Regions from separate parts of the Homo sapiens genome. Here region 2 is linked to region 1. The links are contacts of gene promoters, found by promoter capture Hi-C in human tissues and cell types (Jung and others, 2019). All regions are on one chromosome and are shown on one strand. Each heading gives the region's core, a stretch centred on a gene start or on the middle of the fragment in contact. The rest is flanking DNA. Distances are from core to core; before and after follow the strand shown.

Evidence for each region. Contacts are between HindIII fragments. The study calls those that stand out against the background at their distance.
Region 2: a contact is called between a fragment that was not itself captured here and the fragment with the promoter of MED13 in region 1, in 1 of the 25 tissues and cell types used here (lymphoblastoid cells).

Annotation. Positions count from the first base shown.
Region 1 is chr17:62,062,587-62,069,547 of GRCh38, reverse strand. It overlaps MED13 (mediator complex subunit 13), which reads left to right and starts at 4,270. Exons shown (of 30, transcript NM_005121.3): 1 at 4,270-4,408; 2 at 6,247-6,481. The coding sequence starts at 4,343. RefSeq lists silencers at 3,480-3,559, 4,350-4,629 and enhancers at 3,610-3,869, 4,780-4,879. The HindIII fragment of the contact is 4,175 bases long and covers 3,286-6,961 here.
Region 2 is chr17:61,436,457-61,443,705 of GRCh38, reverse strand. No RefSeq gene overlaps it. Among named protein-coding and RNA genes, the nearest start is that of TBX4, 12 kb to the left of the region's middle. The HindIII fragment of the contact is 3,704 bases long and covers 2,808-6,511 here.

The DNA.
Region 1 (6,961 bases), core at 3,021-5,520:
GGCTAATTTTTTTATTTTTTTTGCAGCGGGGGGTTTCGTCATGCTGCCCAGGTTGGTCTCAAACTCCTGGGTTCAAGCAATCTGCCCACCTCAGCCTCCCAAAGTGCTGGGATTACAGGCATGAGCCACCGTGCTGGGCCAAGTATGGAGTTTTGACCCCAGTTGGTCTAACTGTTCAAGTGCCATTATAAGCAAGATTATGAGCTGCTTGTATATGCTGTATTTTGTCAATACATGACCTGACACATACTAGATGGTTAATACATGTGGGTAGTTAAGTGGTCATATAGTATGATCTCAACCATGTAGGAAAAAGATACATAGGGAAAAGTCAATACATCAAAATGTTAAAAAGTGATTAATTATGAATGGTAATGATACGGACTTTTTTGGGTAATGTACATTTAAAATTTTCATCTTTACGCTTTTATGTATCTGCCAAACTTTTGACAATGTGTGTGTAATGTTTTTATTTATTTATTTTGAGATAGAGTCTCACCCTGTCACCCAGGCTGGAGTGCAGTGGCGTGATCTTGGCTCACTGCAACCTCTGCCTCCCGGGTTCAAGCAATTCTCCTGTCTCAGCCTCCCAAGTAGCTGGGACTATAGGCATGTGCCACCACGCCTGGCTAATTTTTGTATTTTTAGTAGAGATGGGGTTTCACCATGTTGGCCAGGCTGGTTTTGAACTCCTGACCTCAGGTGATCCACCTGCCTCGGCTTCCCAAAGTGCTGGGATTACAAGCGTGACACAGCACACCTGGCCGACAATATGTGTGTAATGTTTTTAGTTATTTCCATTACTTTTTAAAAATCCCATATAACTCCTGCCCCCACACATACACAGCCTCCCTCATTATCAACATCCCCCACCAGGATGGTATACCCAAAGTCCGTATTTCCATTACTCTCTTTTTCTTTTTTTTGAGAACGGAGTCTCACTCTGTCGCCCAGGCTGGTGTGCAGTGGCGCGATCTCAGCTCACTGCAAGCTCCGCCTCCCGGGTTCACGCCATTCTCCTGCCTCAGCCTCCCGAGTAGCTGAGACTACAGGCGCCCGCCTTTTTGTGTTTTTAGTAGAGACAGGGTTTCACCGTGTTAGCCAGGATGGTCTTGATCTCCTGGCCTCATGATCTGCCCGCCTCGGCCTCCCAAAGTGCTGGGATTACAGGCGTGAGCCACTGCACCCGGCCTCCATTACTCTTTAAATCACACAAAATGTCATTTTTACCGAATGTAAGTGGTTACTGATACGTTCTTTGTGGGCTGAAAATATTTATTTCTTCTCTTTCCCTTCTCCCAATGATTCCATTCCCCTCACAACTGGGATCCCCCCCATTCTAATCTGCTTCTCCATTCTCTCAGTCCTGTCTTTCTCTCTCTCTCCTGCTCCCTTCTGCGATCCTCCATCAGACTTTTTCTTCTGGGTCTTCCTCCCTTCTTCGCTTCTGTCTCCTTGTCTCCCTCTTCTTTTTGAAAAGATTGACATTCAAACAGAAAGGTCAATCAAATGTTACCTCCTACTGGTAGGTTTCAGGTATATTCTACCTGCCATTGGAATCCTGAGGATGGTGCTCAAGTCAGGGGGTGGGGGCAATGGGAGGGCAAGACTTCTAAGGAGAATGGAGACCCCTTTAGATGTGAGGAGGGCATTTCAGCCTGAGGAAAGCAGCGGAACAAAGATCTGAGGAGTTTTTCAGGGAACGGGAAATGGGCAGAGGAGCGCTTACCTCATTGGATCTGGGGATTGCTGTCTCCTGGTGCTGGCACTCGGTTATAAAGGATGCCAACCTTAGTTGATTTGAGCTCCTGGATTGAATTAGTCCTGGTTGCATAATTGACTTTGATATGTGGACTTTGGGTTCGAATTAGGTTTAATAAGATTTAACTGCTTCAAAGGGCTTTATAAGAATTCATTTTATCCTTCAAATCTGATTTCAAATGCTACCTACTTTATGACAACTTCTCTAAGTTTGATGCTCTTCTTCTAGTGCACTTACTATGCCATAGTAGGTACATACTTTATTCAAGCAATTACCCCCATTGTATTTTACCTTATTCTGTAGGAAATGTTTCCTTTAGTGCCTCTCTTCAGGAATCTTGAGGGACAGGCAGGTATCTTATTCCTATTTGTATCCTAGGCCTAGCACAGAGCAGGAACACACTCAATTGAGCCAGCAGGTTCTCAATGATTTTTAAAATTACATTAATAATTAACATTAAGTAAGCACTGTGGCAAGCACTGTATCTACATTGTTTCATTCACCAGTCATTTTAGAAGAAAAGTACTTTTATTACCCCCATTTTACAATAACCGAGAGAAAGCAAAATTAATTTGATCTAAGGTCAAATATGATCTAAGACTAACTAGTGAGGGGCAGAACTTTTTCTCCAGGCTTTGGGCTTCAGATCTGGGCTCTTCACCACCACAGATGAACAAGTGGATAAATGAGGACTTCTTTTCATTCCGTGGCTGAAGAAGTGACATGGAAGAGTCTACCATTCATTTTACAGATACAATTATGTATCTGTAATACATAATACATAATTATGTATCTGTAATACATAAAATTACAGTAAGTCCTAACTCACTGATGTTTCTAACTTCTGAATCATCTTTTTCTTCTTCTTTCTTTCTTGCAATCCTAAAACCGTCAGAGAAACTGTTTTGAACTCATATTGAAGTGTAACCCATCCAAGCACTGGGTGTTTTATGGGAAAGAGAATAAACCTTTTGTTTGGTTCTTACTTCTTACCACCCATTCATTTGTAACTATACAAATATCAAGCACCTACTGTGTGCTAGGAACCTTTTTTTAGGCACTAGAGAGACAGAAGTAAACAACAAAAAAATAGTGAGACCTTTACATACACTAGTTCTCCTGCTCGTCACAATAACTATATGAGGTAATGATGACAACAATAATAGTTAACTCTTAACAGTGCTTATCTGTGCGGGGCACTGGGCTACCTGCTTAATTTGTATTAACTCATTACAATAAGCTTGTGGGGTAAGGGATATGTTTTCCCCATTTTACAGATGAGTAAAGACACAGAGCAGGAAGTGATTTGCTCAAGCTTGGAACCCAGGCAGTGTGGCTCTAATTCCCAGTCTATTAACTACAGGGCAATATTTTGTTTCTTAAATTTATATCTTCATATCACAACTTTTAGGTTGAGGAGTCTTATCCCCATCCAGATCATCTGACTCCCAAATCCAGAGGTTTGCACCTGCACCCCAGCGGCCTCGCGAAATAAATGAGAATGTCTTGGAATTTTTGCCAATACTTTCTCTTCCAAAGAACTCAAACTGATTTCCACGTAATTCTCACTGATTTGTGAAATGAACCTTCCTGGACTGTAAATTTCCCCGCAAAGAGAGGGCCAGGGCCCCGGGTCGTTTTATACTGGCCGGGGCACCCAGCAGATGGCGCTATGTTAGTGGCCACCAGCTGGCTGCCCCGTCCCCCGAGCTCACCGCCTCCGCCGAAAGCTTCCCGGCCCTCCCTCGCTCACTTCTCTCTCCCCCTCCCAACCGAGCCCGGGCCCACGTGACCTCAAGGCGGCCAATGGGTGAGCAGAGAGGGCGAGCTGGTCCCTGTGGCCGCCATTAAAGCGAAGGGAAAACCCGTGAATTCGGATTAAAGGGGGAAAAACACCGCCCGCTGGGCCCACAAAATGGGGGAGACTACGGCGTCCAGCCGGTGAGGCCACAGGAGGGCAAACTTTAGGCCGGCTTGGCCCAGGAACGACACGAAGACAGAGCCAGAGAATGGTCTGAGCCCGCAGACGCCGCCACCACCTCCGCCGCTGAGGAGACTCTGGGCTTAAGGACATCGCCGCTGCCGCGCCGGGGGCCTGGGCTTCTCTCCCGGTTCTCGCCCTTCCCGCTCCTGTGCGGGCGCCTCTCCGCCCGGGAGAACCGTCCTGGGCTTGGGCTCTGCCGTCTCGGACTTGATTTTGATTATTTATTGTGTAATTTATTATTTTTCTTGTGGTAGGGGCACACATCCCCTCCGTCCCCCAGAGAGGGACGAGCGTCTGCGGGATCCGCAGTCCGGCCCGCCAGGCGAGCGCGGCGCGGCCCTCCCGCCTCCGGCCCTCGGCCCCGGGCGGCTGGGTGCCGGCCGGGCGGCGGGGGCTGCTCGCGGCGGCGGCGGCGGCGGCGGCGGCGGGGGGGTGGGTGGGGAGGGCGGGCGCCCGGCGGCCTCCTCTTCCACCGCCCCCCCAACCACTACCCCCCCCCCGGCCCTCCCCGGTGTCTGTGTTTCTCTCTCTGGTCGGAGGCGGCGGTAATGGCGGATGGTGGGTTGTGGCGCCGGCGGCGGCTGCTGTGAGGGACGATGAGTGCCTCCTTCGTGCCGAACGGGGCCAGCCTGGAAGATTGTCACTGTAACCTCTTCTGCCTGGTGAGTGCCGGGGCCGGCGGGCGCCGAGGGAGGGGGGCCGCGAGGTGCGCCCTTGGGCCGTGGGGGAGGGGGCCGGGTCTGGTCCAGATGCCCGAGTTCCCGGGCGAGGCCCAGCCGGAGCCGGCGCCCTGCGAAGCTCCGCGGCCAGCCCCGGGAGGCGGCGTTCGCTCTCCTACGGTCCCGGGCTCTGTTTAGGGGAGTGTTGGCATTTTTTCTCGTCTTGTTTCGGACTCTCCTTCTCACCGTAGTCTCGTCCTCAACTTGAGCTCCTTATCTGGCAGGACAGTAACCTTTCCCTCTTGTCTTGCTTAACTGTTGCTTTTCTCCTTATTGGCCCTGTATCCCTGCTTCACACTTTACATTATTGCCCCTGCTCCCCACCGCCTTTATGTCTTACCCTTTTAATTTGGTTTCCCCATGTAAACAGGACCCCAGAACTTAAGCCCTAGAAACCTGTCTTGGTTTTACATTTTTTTTGTATGAGTCAAACTAACGCCAGGTTAGTTTCTTTCTTGGGTGACTTAAGATCTCTCTGTAAAAGCCAGTAGGTGCCATTTCATATGTTTTCTTTTTAAACTTTGAAAACAGTTTGCCATTTTTGACAATTTCTAGCCATCTTGCTTTTATTAGAACATGATGTTTTTGTGAGAGTGAAGGGGGCTAGTGGACGAGGTGCTGTGGTTTTGCACTGTTTCTATATTTATTGTGTTTTGGTTGCTTTTTCAGAATGTTTTGAGCAGGCTGCTCCCTTGTTTGATTGAAATGGAAAGTCGAGAGAAGCGGGATGTAGGGATGATCATTGTGTAGGTTAGCCCAGGTCTGGTAACATCCAACAGTTAAGGCTTTCAGAAGTACCAACTGTTGCAAATAACTTGTCCTGTATGGGACAGTAGCTGAGCTTCATCAATGACTTTAAGTTTGGGTGACTTTACTTTTTCATTTTCTCCTTTGTGCTATGAGAAATATTAAGAGTATATGATAGGTAAGTGAGTTAAGTGGGAGGAGCACAACTAGTTGGCAAGTGTAAACTGCCAGTCATGTATCAGCAGTTTCATTTTTGGCACCTTATGCTTTGCTCCTTTAAGTTAGATTAAATTACTGAATTCCTCTTGTCGAATTTCTTAACGCCCATGCTAAATTGAGATCTTTAATACTCTATCCTCGTCTACAGTATGTTTTTCTTTTCAATGTCCATTAATCAGCATCTCTTCACATGTAATAAGACATACACCAGGTTTTATATTTCTATCTTATCCAACTCAGTCTATTTTTGGTACTTTTAGGATCAGTTCTTTGAAGATAGACTAGCACAAATCTGACAGTTCTTTGTGAGTAGCTATTTGACTTTTCCGACAGGGGTGTGTGTGAAGAATTAACATAGATTTTTTCAGAACTTGTTCAGATGTCTTTTCATTAGAGACGTTACTTCTGTAAATGTGGAATAAAAACCCATGATAGGGTCTTTAATAATTGATTTTCAGTTAAAAGTTTGACACCAGTGAACAAATGTGACCAGTTAGGACAGAGAAAAATGTACTCTGTTTGCATATTGAAGTGTGTGTCTATATTTAACATCATTCAGTTTCTTCTGTTTCTACTTGGAGTACATATTTGCTTGCTATTCAGTGACATGGTGGTGGTAATTTTTAACTGTATTCTTCTCCCTAAAATTCTTGGTTGTTGAATTATAAAGTCTTTTTTTGTTCTAATTTGCAGTCAATATCTCAAGCATACATTGAAAAATTGTAATGTCTTAATGAAATAAGAGACATCATATTGAGTACTTTTGACTTTGAGTGAATATGCAGTAATAAAACTTAATGCTTTCTTTCCTTCAGGCTGACTTGACAGGAATTAAGTGGAAAAAATATGTATGGCAAGGCCCAACTTCTGCCCCTATTCTGTTTCCTGTGACAGAAGAAGACCCCATTTTGAGCAGTTTTAGTCGCTGCCTTAAGGCAGATGTACTTGGTGTTTGGCGGCGAGATCAAAGACCTGGAAGAAGAGAATTGTGGATATTTTGGTGGGGTGAAGACCCCAGTTTTGCTGACCTTATTCACCATGACTTATCAGGTGAAAGAAACTTTCCATTTCTAACTAATGATATAGCAACATTGTATACTTCTCCCAGAATGTCATATGTATTACAAATTAAGTTTGTTTTTGTGGGAGACTTAGGAGGCCAGATAAAAATTCAGCTTCATTGTTTTATTTCACCATGATTATTTTATTTTACTTAAATTATCCATGTTGTTATAGCTGGGTTTTTAAGGCGTGAATGACTTTCTCCTTCCACCACCTCTCTTCTTAATTTCTCACAGGTAGTTAGGGCCCGAAGAAGGCATGTTACATTAATCTAAAAAAATGGAATCAGGAAACAGAGTTCCTAACAAAGTCGTGTAATAGTTTAGAAGCCAGATGTAACTTTTGAGTCACTTCAGCCACTGCTGAAGTTGAGTCTTTTGCATTGAATAGGCAGATGATTCTAAAAGTACTGGAAATGTAACTATCCGTGTGTGTGTGTGTGTGTGTGTGTGTGGTGTGTGTGTGTGT
Region 2 (7,249 bases), core at 3,410-5,909, 630 kb after region 1:
TGGATTCCGGAAGGGGAAGGGGCCCAATCAACGAGGGGGAAGCGGGTGAGGGTGGGGCCGAGGCCCAAGCTCGCGCCCACGTGGCCACCAGGCCTGCGCCTTCCCGCCACCTGTGGCCGGCAGCCTGGCCCCTGTTGAGCTGCAGCTGCAGCTCCCAGACACCAGCCCAGTCCGTCGCCAGGGGATTAGTGTCTGTCTGTCGGTTGGGACAGCCTCAGTGGGGGTTGTCCCGGCCCAGACAAGGGCCTCCACCTCGCCTTTCCCCAGGACCACCCCCCCTGAGTCCAGCATGGGCAGAAGGGATTGTTTCGGGGGGTCTGACTGCCTGGAGTGCTGATCTCTCCCAGAGCTGAGGTGTGGGGTGACCAGAGTCCCCCTCCCTGCCAAGGCTGAGCCACATGTGCTGGGAAGTTCATTTCCCCTTGTTTTCCAGAAGGGGCTCCGGGATTGACCCCGGGAGTGACCCCAGTGTCAGGAGGCATTAATGATCTCCATACGGGCAATAAACAGGCAGACCGGCTGGCTGGGTGTGGAGGTGCCCTGGAATGGGGCTGCCTTATTAGCCTCACATTCACTCGTGGGTAGAGGCTTAATTAGGAAGGGCTCCCTCCTCTGTCTCCCCCTCCCCCAAGCATCCTTGACCTCCCTGGGAACTGAAGTCTTCTCACTGGTTCCTCTGCCCCTCAAGGGCTTCCTCAAGAGGCAGCTTCTTCAGACGTCAGCTCAGCCATTTGTCCGCCTCTAACAGGACTTTCGACTCAGCCCTGATAATAAGGTCTATCTTGTTTGTAAAAGTCTCCAGAGGCAAAAAGTTCACAAACGTTCTGAGTCAGCTCACTTTTTTGTCTACCAAACCCAGGAACAAGAAGGTCTTTCTCTTCTTTAATTTAAATCCCTCTTGACCATTTAAGTTTGAGCCTGTTGAGCCTTATTTTCTCAAAGTGCAAAGGGAGATAGCTGGTGACCACCCTTTACTTCCAGTCTTTAGCAACTGCCTAGATGATTACAAAGCCCAATGTGATTGATCACAACTGTCTCTCCAACTTGATTGCCATTAGGGAGGTTGCTCATTCTAAGTGTGCAGCTTGTTCTCCTTGGGCTTCAGTTTCCTCATCGGTACAGCTCACTTGAAATTCACCAAACACCACATGCTAGGCACAATGCTAAGCACTAGGGCAATAAAGCCAAGGAAAACTCAGGGCCTACTTTAGAGGAGCTCCCAGTCCAGTGAAGAAGACAGACTTGTAAACAAACGCCATAATAAAATGTGCTCAGGGCTATAATCTTAAGTCCTTACTGAGTGTGAAAAGAGTACAAAAGAAGGATTAACCAACTCATCCTGGCTTGTTTGAGGAAGTCTCCATGAGAGGTGAGATCTGATGCTATCTATGAAAGACGAATATGAATGGGATCCTTCGAGACAGAGAATGTGGGAAAGGCATCCAGGAGAAAGGAAGAATACAGACATAGGCATAGAGAGGCCTGTTTCAGGAGTAGTGGGGCTGGAGTGGTAAATGAAGCCTTGTGGAAAGATAAGGCTTGGGAAGGACCTTGTAAACCATATTAAAAACTTCAGCTAATGGCAATGGGGGACCATAAAGGGTTCTTTTTGGGGGCAGGGGGAGGGAAGGAGAAGCTTGGACTGATCAGATTTTATTTTATTTTATTTTTTTATTTATTTTATTTTATTTTATTTATGTTATGTTATGTTATGTTATGTTATGTTATGTTATGTTATGTTATGTTATGTTATTTTTGAGATGCAGTCTCCCTCTGTTGCCCAGGCTGGAGTGCAGTGGCGCAATCTTGGCTCATTGCAACCTCCACCTCCTGGGTTCAAGTAATTCTCCTGCCTCAGCCTCCTGAGTAGCTGGGATTACAGGCGTCCACCACCACGTCCAGATAATTTTTGTATTTTTCATAGAGACGGGGTTTTACCATGTTGGCCAGGCTGGTCTCAAACTCCTAACCTCAAATGATCTACCTACCTTGGCCTTCTGAAGTGCTGGGATTACAGGCGTGAGCCACTGCGCCCAGCCCAGAATGTATTGTAGAAGATGACTGGTAGTGGGGCAAATAGATTTGCAGGTAGAGACTGGCAGCAAGGAGTTATGAGGGCAGGGAAGTTATTAGAAAGATATTTAGGAGAAGTGAAGTATGGAAGAGGCAGGAGTTAAAGATGTTTCTGGGCCAGAGTATGATGGACAGTTGTGATATTTTTACACCCAGACTTCATCCCCCCCTTTTCAGGTTCAGAATGCTCGTTGAGTTTTAGGAGGAAGAATCATTCTCTAGAGGCTTTTAAAAACAAGATTGACAATATCAGGATTGATTTACAATTTGTTAGGACCATCACTGAAAGGGTTGTGCTTACCCCCAGCTAAGACCATGTGACCCTAGTTAGTGCATTCAGATGCTTTCTTCCTGTAATTCTAATCTCGAGCCTAATGGCAGAAAGAATGAAGGGATGGAAGTTGAATCATCCTCTTTGGGCCTCGGCTTCCTTAACTGTACAGTTCATTTTAGATTCAACAAACACTACATGGTAGGTAATGTTCTTCTACTACATTCTTCAGTCTTCATTCCCCAGGGAAGCCATTCACTTGTATCCACTGTTCAGCTTCCCAGAGCTGCTCTGGCCTTCATTATTTATGAGTCTTGACCTTCAAGAATTTTCTTCATGTCAGTGAATTGCCCCATGCTTCCAAAAAATCCCCTCTCTGCTAAAACCAACCAGGTACATTGTCACAGCTTTGACACAGAACCTTTTGTGGTTGTGATGACATTAAGTGAGAGAATAGGCAGTGAGTATGGGCAGAGATGAGTTTCATTTTAGTCATGATAAGAAATACAGGGTCTGGAGATCACAATTTGAGACACATGAGTACACAGTGGGCATTCATACTGGTAGTTGATGAGGCCACTGAGGGAGAATTCATTGAAAAAGAAAAGGAGACCAAGAATGGAATCTTGGAGGGTGTGGAAAAGAAAGGAAATCAGCAAAGGGGCCTGAGAAGAATCAGTTAAAAAACTGGCTGAGAGAGTGCAATCCTGGTCGCAAAAGAACTTTTTAGGAGCAAGGGAGAAGTCAGCAATGTAAACTACTGGCAACTGTATTAAGGAGGATTCGAGGAGGAGGAAGTTAGAGTCACTGGTGACATTAGGAAGAGCAGATTAGTGGAGGGAAGATAAGAGTTCATCTCCATTCCAGGCTGTTGGAGAATCAAATGAGCTGGCTACCATAAATTGGAAGGACCCACCAAATGGGAGAGGCTCACACTCTGGTTTTCCTGGGCTTCTGGAAAGAACCATAATGCTGGCCTCCTGTGCCAGCTTCCCTCTCATGGGCATTGACTAAAACTTGCCAGCAAGTCACTATACACCACTGGAATCCTCACCTGCCCAGAGGGCCTGTCTTGGGGAGCTCCCTCTCTCAGACTCACTCAAGAGTCGGGCCTAGAGGCCCAGCAGAGTGGCTGAAGACAACCCGACAATCATGCTGTATTTTTGCAGTGGATGACTCTTCATAGCCCACCCTCCTTATTTCACTGTCAGTAACATCCCAGTGCATCACCTGACATTAAAGTCCTCCAGGATTTAACACCAAACCTGTTTCTACCCCAGTCCCACTGCTCCTCCTCAGGAACCAAATTCCCTTTCACACAGCTCCCTCACAATGGCCTTCACAGTCCTTTTAATGCACCTTTGTTCACACAGCATCTCTTTGATATCTCTCCCTTGATTTCCTGCCTACCTACATCCTTCACAGTTTATGTAACATTTTCACATATACCTGAGCTCATAACAACCCTGAGGAGTAGGAAAGAATACAGATGGTATCACCCACATTTTACAAATAAGGAAACCAAGGCGTAGGGGAGGTAAGGGACTTTCCCAAAGCCACACAATTAAGAGGGGGCCTCTTCAGACTTTTGGAATTCCATGGCTTCCAGATTCCAGGTTTCAGAATCATAAAGCTTAGTGCAATTGTCACCTCCTTGTCAGCCTGGGACAGGCTGTAAACTATGTGCAATTTGGCCCAGAGGGTTTGAGGACAGCATGACATGGTGGTTGAGCTTGGCCACTGGGTCCATACATCTCAGGTATTACCTTGGGTGATCTACTTAGCTTCTCTGGTCCTCAGTTTCCTCATCTGTAAAATGAGCAAAATAATACTCATTTACTTCAAGTTATTAAATATTTGGGAAGCATTTACAACACTACAGAGTAAATAGATTTACTTGAAAGTGAAATGAACTTGATTGAAAAAGATTAGACTCATTCATTGTCCATGGTATTACTACTACTTTAGAGTAAAATGTCCTCATTGGAAAGAATCTGGTAATTATGGCAGACTGCAAAGAAAACAAAAGAGATAACCACTTGACATTTTTGCCAGAGTGATGACAGCAAGCTGGTGGAATAGGAGACTCCAGTCCTCATACTTCCATAGAAACATCAATTTTGACAACCATCCATGGACAAGAAGAGTACCTCAAGTAGGAAACCAGGAGTCCAGTGAAGCAATTATAGAACTCTGTTTAAGCCAAAAAAAAAAAAAAAAAGAAAGAAAGAAAGAAAAGAAAAAACAACTAAGACTAGATGCGTTGATGAAGGTAAGAACACAGTGGCTCGTGCCTCTAATCCCAGCACTTTAGGAGGCTGAGGCAGGCGGATCACCTGAGGTCAGGAGTTTGAGACCAGCCTGGCCAACATGGTGAAACCCCGTCTCTACTAAAAATACAAAAAATTAGCCGGGCGTGGTGGCACACCCCTGTAATCCCAGCTACCTGAGAGGCTGAGGCAGGAGAATAGCTTGAACCTGGGAGGCGGAGGTTGCAGTGAGCCGAGATCACACCACTGCACTCCAGCCTGGGTGACAGAGTGAGACTCTGCCAAAAAAAAAAAAAAAAAAATTACCTGGTCATGGTGGCAGGTGCCTGTAGTCCCAGCTACTCCAGAGGTTGAGGCAAGAGAATCACCTGAACCCAGGAGGCGGAGGTTGCAGTGAGCTGAGACTGCAGCACTGCACTCCAGCCTGGGCAACAAGAGCGAGACTCCACCTAAAAAAAAGAAAAAGAGGAAGAACAGTTTCACTTAACCCACATCACCCTACTCCCAAGGCAGCATGGCTCAGTGCCCAAGTCCACAGTTTCTTCGATGGGGGATAGTGAGAGTGAAGTGAGTGTCCAGCTTCCCCAGCCTCACAGGTTGTTACCCAAGAGGCTCACTTCTGCCTCACCCCACCCAGATCACAGAAGATCACACAGCTAAAAGTCTTGGGGGAGGTAGGAGCAACCACAAAGTCTCAAAAACCAGCTGTAGACCCTATTAATTGGTTTGAGACTCCACCAGGAGTCTGAAAACCATGAAAACCCTGTAGGATGCCTCATCTTCAACACCTTCAATTGGATGACTCACACCCTCAGCACTCTGCATGTGCCCCTGAAATGGCACATGCAAAAGTCCTCAGATGGCATTTATGCGTTCCTGAGACAGAGCACCTGAGCCTCCACAGATAGTGAGTGCAAGCCACCACAGAGGACACATGCAAATCCCCACAGACAGCACATAGATATCAGCAGCTATCTCAACTTTGCAGGGTTGAGAGAAGGTGCACAATCTTGAACACTTCAAGGCACTTTCCTGGAGAAAATTAAGAGGAGGCCCTCCACACCTGGCCTGACTTTACAGGATTGAGAGTAGGCACACAATCCTAAGCCTTACCCCCACAAGGGGGAACAAGAGAGTGGGGCAGGTGAATCCATAGAAAAGGCCTGAAAGACGTCAAACTCTTGATTGTCTGGTGAATGTCTTTCTCTTCCAAAGCCAGTTAGTAGAGACTGGAAGAGGAGACTGCTTTTTCAAAGACAGAAATGCAACACTTCAAGGAACAAGAAGAATTAAGAAAACATGACACCACCAAAGGAACAAAATAAAGCTCCTGTGGCTGATCCCAAAGAAATTGAGACCTATGAATTGCCTGATAAATAATTCAAAATAAGTGACTTAAGCTCACTGAGGTACAGGAGAACACAGACAACTAAACAAAATCAGGAGAACAATACAAGAACAAAATGAGAAATTCAACCAAAAGATAGAAATCATAAAAAAGAACTAAACAGAAATTCTGGAGCTGTAGAATATGATGAATGAACTGAAAAATTCAATAGAGAGCTTCAACAGGGGACTCAAGCAGAAGAAAGAAGCAGTGGACTCAAAGACAGATCATTTGAAATTATCCAATCAGAGCAACAATAAGAAGAAAGGATGAAAAAGGCCTGTGTAACTTATGGGACAACATGAAACAAAACAACATTTGCATTATGAGTTGATGTTCTAGCACATTCAAAGTGCTGAAACAACAAAAACAACTGCTAACCAAGAATATTCTACATAGGAAATCTATTTTTAAGAAAGGAAGGAGAGATACTTTTCCAGCTGAGGGAGTTCATTACTACTTACAAGAAGTACTAAAGAAAGTTCTTCAGGTTGAAATGAAAGGATATCAGCCAGCACTGGAAAGAAGAAGAAGAAGAGAGAAGGAAGAAGGAGAGGGAGAGGGAGGAAGGAAGAAGGAAAAGAAGAAGAAGGAGGAGGAATGAAAGGACACTAAACATAAGAAACATATGAAAGTATAAAACTTGCTAGCAAAGGTAAATGTATAGTCAGATTCAGAATAGTCTAATTCTGTAATGGTAGTATGTAAATTGCTTTTACCACCAGTGTAAAAGTTTAAAGACAAAAGTATTAAAAATGACTATAGCTGCAATAATTTACTAATGAATGCACATTATAAAAATGTAAACAGTAATATTAATAATATTAAATGTAGGGGAGAAGAAGTTAAAGTTTTTGTATGTGATCAAAGTTAAGTTTTTATCAGGTTAAAATAGTCTATTATAACAATAGAATGTTTTCTGTAATCCCATGGTAATCACAAAGAAAAAATTCTGTAGGAGATACACAAAATACAAAGAGAAAGGAATCAAAACAAAATACTATAAAAAATTATTAAATCACAAAGGAAGACAACAATAGAGAAAAGAGCAAATGAATTGCAAAACAGAAAACAACTAGATGGCAATAGTAAGTCCTTACCTATCAATAATTACCTTACATATAAATGACTTAATTTCACCAATCAAAAGACAGAATAGCTGAATGACTAAAAAACAAGATCCTGCTATATGCTGCCTACAGGAGACTCACTTTAGCTTTAAGACACACACAGGCTGAAAGTAAAGGG